Regions from separate parts of the Homo sapiens genome. Here region 2 is linked to region 1. Evidence: promoter capture Hi-C in 16 types of primary human blood cells and fetal thymus (Javierre and others, 2016). All regions are on one chromosome and are shown on one strand. The core of a region is centred on a gene start or on the middle of the fragment in contact, and the rest is flanking DNA. Distances in the headings are between cores, read along the strand shown. Region 1 holds the start of PDCD10 (programmed cell death 10). Region 2 has its middle 14 kb from the start of RPL22L1.

Region 1 (3,889 bases), core at 95-2,594:
GTAGACACTGAAGAAGAATGCAAAGTTATTTTCCTAGTGAAATAGTTCAGAAGTTATTCTATATCAATAGCAAAATTTTTGCTTTTTATAGGCTACGCACCTATAACATCCACCAGATAACATCCACCTCGTCCTCAATTAGCAGGATTTTTCTCAATCTTCAGATCTCCCAGAACAGTTTTACTGGTGCAACTCAAACCAAAAACACTAACCACGCCCTTTATACCCAGAGTCAAGCTTCCTTTTGCTTTTTTGCCCTTAAAGTCGAAAAATGTAAATCTTTCACCCGAGAGGTTTTGCACCGGTTTCCTAACCCAACGCGGACTCTTTTAGCTGTGTCTTGATGTAATTCCTATTGGAAGACGTTTTCTCCAGGGCAGTGCAGACGCCCCGAAGAAGGACCCACGCTTACCTCCCACACACCTGCAACCCCTGACGGGATGCTGGAGCTTGTGCTCGGCGGACTGTGCTCCGCTCCGCTCTCGTTCCTGCTTTCGTCTCTCCCGGGAAACTACAGTCCAGACTGCGCCTCTGGCTTCTACAGGGACCCAAGCTCCGCCTCTCCCTCCTCTAGTTGGCGAATTTGGCAGCTGTTGCTCCTCCCCCTGCTGTTTCTGCAGCTGCCCGGACCGGAGGCAGCGGAAAGCAGCTGCCCTGGTACCTTTCCGCTCCCTGCACTTCTGCAGCTGCTCTGCCACTTCCACTCCCGTGGGGGTCCCTCTCCCCTCCTCTGTGGCTCACACCTGGAGCGGCCTCCTGCCCCACCCAGGCGTCTCTGCTGGGAGCCCCGGCTCAGCCTATCCTTCCCCGACCTGTGTGTCCGGATGCCCGGTGTGCCTGGGGCTTAGCTGCTCTCAGGGAAGCTGCCCCTCTGCCCAGTGCAAGTCCCCACACCAAGCCCTCCCTTCACCTGGGCGATTTCCCCGAGGCTTCCTCTCCACCCACACGGCATACTCAGCCCGACAGCCCCAGGATCCCCACCACAGGCCCCTCACCCCCTTCCTTCCTCTGCTCTGTCAGCCCGCCCCCTCAATGGGTGAGGCGCCTGCGGGGCCTACTCCGCACCCTGATTGGCGCAGGTGAGGGCTTGCCCCGCCCTTCCTCTCCTTTCCGTGCACCATCTCTCTTCATCTCACCTCCTCCCGCAAAGGCAGGGAATTCTCCTACTATTGGCTAGAAGTGTCACCACCCATCGCCTCAGGATCCCCCGCATGGCCTGCCGGGAAGTGTAGTCTTCCGATTGCAGGAATTGCGGACAACGCCGGCGAGCGGGACTACGAGTCCCCATAAGCCTCTGCACGACTCCGGCTGGGCAGGATTCCGGACAACGCCTGGTTCCTCTTGGGTCCTTCCGGCGTCGCCGGAGTGAATTGATCCGGGAGTTGAAGAGGGCTGCAAGGTGGGAAGTGAAGTCAGTGCCTCAGTTGCTGGTAAGGTGTAGCTGTTCTGTCCCAGTCCCCGTAGCTCTGCACCGAGCAGAAGAGGTCTAGGGTCACGCAGGGGCCATGGCTGAGGCACTTGGGCTTGGTTCTGGCAGGCGGAGCGGACGGGGCTGAGAGCGGGGCCCTACGGGCGTAAGCGAGGTTACCCTACGCGAGTGGCGTAAAGCGGGTTTGTAAATGCCGCCTGCCGGCTTGGGCCCGAACGCCTCCAGGAAGTCTCCTCTAGGTGGGGGCGGGAGGGGAAGGGCGAGGTTGGCCCCTGGTGCCCCGGGAGAGGGGACAGGGCGGATGTGCCTGGGGTGGGGTCCTTTGAAGGTGTGGCTTCGGACCGAGAGGTGAGGCTGCTGTTTTCCCCCTGCTTTGTAAGTAAGAGAAAAGGGAGGAGGAAGGAAAGGGTGCTTGGGAGTCGGCTCTTGGGGGTGACTCGGGTTATGCCCTTTGAGGGAAGAGGAGCACTGGAAGAAGGAAGAGACAAATGTTGGGGTCTACGGATTCAGTTCCAGTTTAATGATGTGGCCCTCTAAGGAGATAATTTTGCCTTAAACAGAAAGACTTGACCCTCTTAGGTGTCATACCTAAGGTATGTTTTTACTCCTTTACTGCTTTCAGAGCGCTTTCATTTTGGGATGCTGATGAGGAAACCGAGGGATTATATGACGTGCCCAAGGTCACACACGTAGGGACAGACTTTCTGAATCTAGTTCGGTTCGAGTCCAGCTTTAGAGTAGGGACGTTGGTTGTGCTTTTTGAAAAGGGTGGAGGAAGTTACAAAGTAAATGTATTTTATATAGTATATCTAAGAAGCCATTGTGAGATAAAAAGTTGTTTCTTGAACCGGAGTGAAATTCCTCAATAAAGGAAAGATCCTTTTGGAAAAAATAAAAATGGCCAGTTTCAACTTTTACAGATTTTTCCCCTTTTTTTAGGGGTGTATTAAATGATAGACTCTACTCTCACAGTTCATTTTTACGGGTAGGTAATAGGATGGGAGAACAACAGTTAAACAATATATCCCATCCTTAGAAGAATATTCTTTTCTTTTTCTACCTTAGGACTGTTTTTACTCTCATTTTGTAAAACTGATAATAGTGGGATTGGAATTCTTTCACAAAACTACACTTTTTTCAAATAATGTAGCGTTAGGAGAGTTTAGTGTGCCCATTACTAGAAAAGAAGGTATTTTGCATTTCTTGGAGGTAACATCGTCTTTTTTGAGACTTTACTTTTCCCCCATTTTCTTGACTCTGGGCTGTATTTGTGTGTGTGTCTGCAAATAATAAAATTGGGCTCTTGCATATTTTTATTTTTCTTAGCATCAACTGTGACTTTCAATTCATTCTTACTTTACATTGAAGAATGAAAAAACAGTACACGTATAGTTCATATCTTGCAGAAAGTAGTGCCTTTATGCAAGTCTTATCCTCTATAATGATTATGACCAGTTATAGCTCATGACTATTATTATTGGATAAGTTTTTAATAGAATTGTTAGAGTATGTTCATTGATGGCAGAATTTATTTGTGATAACTTTATATCCATACAGGTTAGCATGTAATAAATCATGGCTTACTCTTAACATGTAATAAATCATAGCTTACTGTTTTATATATAAGTTGATCATCAGACTATGCTGAATTTTGAATGTACTCTGCAGTTACTATATTATCAACAATGTGCTTCACTTTTTAATGGAAAAACATTTTTTCGGAACAGAGGTATTATCTTCCCTGATGGTTGAAATTAAGATGGTCTGGAAATTAATACGATTTTTAAAATAGAAAAAGTATGATACTATAGAATGAAGTAAAATCAGGAATAATGTACCATAAGTAATGTAGTACACAGACAAGGAAGACCCAGTTAAACAAATGGAAAATTATGTGGTGATAACTGACTTTGTGCTGGATTAAGAAAGGTGCAGTGATGTAAGTAGACCGTAAACTGAACATGAGTCAGTGATGGTAAAGCAAGAATATTAATCTGTTTTCTAGATGACAATGTAGGTATTTGCCTTTTGTTGAAGGAGGTATGAAATAAGTTCTAACCTTTGGCATGTAACTCTGTCATTATGGAAAGAGCTTTTGAACTATGAGGAAATTTTGGAAATTAGTTAATGTAATGCATTTGTTCAGTGTGTTTTAGATTTTGTTCTTGGTTCATTTCTGCCACTACTCTTTATCTCTGAGGCCAATTATAGTTTTGATATTTCTTCTATTCGGATGGTGGATTAATGTTTGTATTGTTGTTATCATCTTTCAGTCACATGCTGCGGTACTGTTGTCACTTTAGATCTCTGCACGTTGGATAATTAGGAGTTCACAGAGTTATGTGTACACGTGGTTTGCAGCTCACCAGTGTCTGCATTTCTTCTCATTTTGAACTTTGCAGGAGCCTTATGTCAGCTTTTGGACATTATTTCTTAGAGGACTTGGGATGTCTTCCGTAT
Region 2 (3,589 bases), core at 70-2,569, 3.1 Mb before region 1:
TCAGCCTCCTGAGTATCTGGGACTACAGGCATGTGCCACCATGCCTGGCTAACTTTTGTATTTTTAGTAGAGACGTGGTTTCGCCATGTTGGCCAGGCTGGGCTTGAACTCCTGACTTCAAGTGATCCTCCTACCTTGGCCTCCCAAAGTGCTGGGATTACAGGGGTCAGCCAGTGTGCCTGGCCAGGAGTCATCCATTTCTACAAGGAGCTCTGGACTATTTTCTAGGTGCTGGAGATGCTTGTCATTACTGGGGTGGTGTTTGTTTCTAGGCCTTTTGAGTGGACAGAGTGAAGGAATACATTTTTGTTCTTAAGAGGAAATGATATGTTTATTCTGATGCTTCCAATTCAAAATCAGGATAAAAGAGTTTTTATTTCATCAATTGTATGACCATATCTCTTTTTTCCCATGCTGAAAGTTCCAGTTCTCAATGACACCAACACAAATGCTCATTTGCTTTATCTCACAATATACACATAATAGTTTCAATAAAATAATACCAACAAAACTACCTATAATATAATGACTTTACAGCTTAAGATTGTTTTGCAGTTCTTTTTGTCCTTATGGTATATCCCACTAGAAATGAACAAAGTTTCGTGTTTTAAAGTCACTAGAAATGATTCATCTCTGTGTGGGCGTAGAACAAGCTTGATACACAGAGTCATTTGTTTCATTTTGCTTTTGATTAAAAAGTTTGCTTAAGCCCACTTTGTTTTTTATAATTCTGTAAAATATTTACAGGATTCTAAAGTCCAATCTACAAAACAAAGTATATTTAGAAAAGTCTAGTTTCTCTGTCTTTTTTTTTTTTTTGAGACAGAGTCTCGCTCTGTTACCCAGGCTGGAGTGCAGTGGTACAATCTCAGTTCACTGCAACCTCTGCCTCCTGGGTTCAAGCAATTCTCCTGCCTCAGCCTCCTGGGTAGCTGGGACTACCAGCTCCTGCCACCACACCCGGCTAATTTTTGTATTTTTAGTAGAGAAGGGGTTTCACTATATTGGCCAGGCTGGCCTCGAACTCCTGAACCTGTGATCCACCCGCCTTGGCCTCCCAAAGTGCTGGGATTACAGGTATGAGCCACCGTGCCCAGCCCCTAGAGAGGAGTTGTAAACCTGAGACTTACAGGTCAAAAGATAAATGAATGTGTAATTTCTAGATATTGCTGAATTTCCCTTTACAGGGGTTGTAGCATTTTGCTCTCCCACTAGCCTTCCCACCAGCAATCTGTGAAATCTGTTTTCCTGTAGACACACCAAGAGATAACCTTGTCCAATTTGAGGCTTAACTGACAGGTGAGACCTGGTTTTCAGGGTAATTTTCCTTTGCATTGTATTTGTGAGTGAGGTTGAATGTCAATAAGGGTCATTTGCATATCTTTCTCTGTGAGCTGCCTGTTTATATCTCTAATATATATCTGTGGAATTCTTGTTTTTATTTTTAATTTTTTACTTTTAGAAGCTCCCTCTATGTTAAGGCTATTAACTCCTTGTGTGTGATGTAAATTACAATTTCTTTTTTCAGCTTCTCATTTGTCTTTTTCCCCTACTTATGGTATTTTTGTTTTTTAACTTTTTTTTGAGACAAGCCCTTGCTCTGTTGCCTAGGCTGGATCATGGCTCACTGCGTCCTTGACTTCGTAGATTCAAGCCATCCTCCCACCTCAGTCTCCTGAGTAGCTGAGACTACAGGCACACACCACTACCTGGCTCATTTTTTAAAAAATTTGGGTAGAGATGGGGTCTTGCTATATTGCTCAGGCTGGTCTTGAATTCCTGAGTTCAAACAATCCTCCTGCCTGAGCCTCCCAAAGTGCTATTATTGCAGGTGTGAGCCACCATACCCAGCTGCTATTTTTCTTTTGTTTTATTACTAGTTTTCATTTTGTTTTGTTGTAGTTGTTGCTATAGAAGCATTATTTTTATTTTTATGTAATTAAATCAATTAACTTTTTTCTTATTGCCATGGTTAGAAAAGCTTTCCCCGTTATCAAGAATTCATTTATGTTTTCTGCTAGTACTTACATATTTTCATCTTAAAAAAATGTAGGTCTCTATTCTATTTGGAATTTATCCTGGTTTACAATTTGAGAAGTGGATCCAATTATACCTTTTTCCCATGTGACTACCCACCTATACCATTACCCCTGATGAAAAAGTTCCCAGGAAGTTTTGCTTAGCATAGGTTTTCCTACTTACTGTCTGGAAACCCTTGTATGTGGTCATGCTGAAGGGACTGGAGTCTAGATATATAGCTTCAGTGTGTGCTCTTTTACAAGCTGGATGATTAAAATGCCAGGAAGGCCAGTTTTAAACAATGTGTTGCATTTACAAATGGCTTTCTCTTTTCTTTTGATCCCTTAACAGCCCTCTGTGGCACAATATTATCTTCCCATTTTTCAGATGAAAAAACCAGGTCTCAGGTTTACTGGCTTGCCCATGGTCACACCATGGCACCCACCTCTCACTCCTCACCCAGTGCTCCTCCCACACACGGGGCCATGTCACACATCCTGCCTCTCTGTTGCCTACTAGCTTTGTGACCTTGGACACATCTCTTCACCCTCTGGGCCTCAGTTTCCCCTTCTGTATATAAAGAAGTGGTTAAAAATAGGTCAGCATTTCTCGGGCTTTAGTAACACCTGCTTCCTTTTGATAAACACAGATATTTCTCATGTTCCTTGTTCCCAGTTCCAATTGCCACCCTGTGATATAACTGATGCATAAATATCCCCACCAACCAAGGTATTTTGGGGCTTTCTATTCTGAAACAAAACAAAGTAAGATTTTTGGGATAATTTTCCCACTATAAACTCATAATATTGGATATACCTTTTTTTTTTTTTTTTTTTTTTTTTTTTTGAGACGGAGTCTTGCTGTGTCGCCAGGCTGGGGTGCAGTGGCGCAATCTCGGCTCACTGCAACTTCCGCCTCCCAGGTTCAAGCGATTCTCCTGCCTCAGCCTCCTGAGTAGCTGGGATTACAGGCCCACACCACCACACCTGGCTAATTTTTTGTATTTTAGTAGAGATAGGGTTTCACCAGGTTGGCCAGGATGGTCTCGGTCTCCTGACCTCATGATACACACAAGCTTCTTGAGAGTAACATACTTCCCCCATGATAAGGCTTTTTTTTTCTGTCCTAAAATCCTATGAGTTAATGAGCCAAACTGGGAATCATGATCTGCTATCTCAATTATGATGGAATAGATATGTTTTCTCCCAAGGGAGGGAACACTGCAACTCCTCTCTCCCTCTTTCTCTGAGATGGGGAGGTGTGAATTACAGATTCCATACATGTCACAAATATATGGTCAATGATTTCTGCCTTGGCAGTCGCAGTCATGGGAGATGATGGGTGAGTTATATATACTCTCTGCACTCAAGGAAATCCCAGTTCTAACGAGGGGAGCAAATGTGGGTACAAATGACTTTAGGTAAGTGTGGTTCATGCAGTAATAGAGATATTACAAAATGCTTTAGAAGCACCAATACCATAATGAGTGGGAAAAGGAATCCAAGAAGGCCTTCTGCAGGAGGTGGCTTACCCTGACTTCTCTTTAAGGAAGAATGGGAATTGATGGGGC

What was found. Contacts are between HindIII fragments. The CHiCAGO score rates a contact against its expected background, and 5 or more counts as called.
Region 2: a contact is called between a fragment that was not itself captured here and the fragment with the promoter of PDCD10 in region 1, in 1 of 17 cell types (non-activated CD4 T cells). The highest score is 10.4, in non-activated CD4 T cells.

What each region holds. Positions count from the first base shown.
Region 1 is chr3:167,732,347-167,736,235 of GRCh38, reverse strand. It overlaps PDCD10 (programmed cell death 10), which reads left to right and starts at 1,344. Exons shown (of 9, transcript NM_007217.4): 1 at 1,344-1,574; 2 at 1,886-2,022. It overlaps SERPINI1 (serpin family I member 1), which reads right to left and starts at 515. Exons shown (of 9, transcript NM_001122752.2): 1 at 413-515. RefSeq lists an enhancer at 1,093-1,532 and a silencer at 1,583-1,712. The HindIII fragment of the contact is 6,113 bases long and covers 240-3,889 here.
Region 2 is chr3:170,854,777-170,858,365 of GRCh38, reverse strand. No RefSeq gene overlaps it. Among named protein-coding and RNA genes, the nearest start is that of RPL22L1, 14 kb to the left of the region's middle. The HindIII fragment of the contact is 1,328 bases long and covers 656-1,983 here.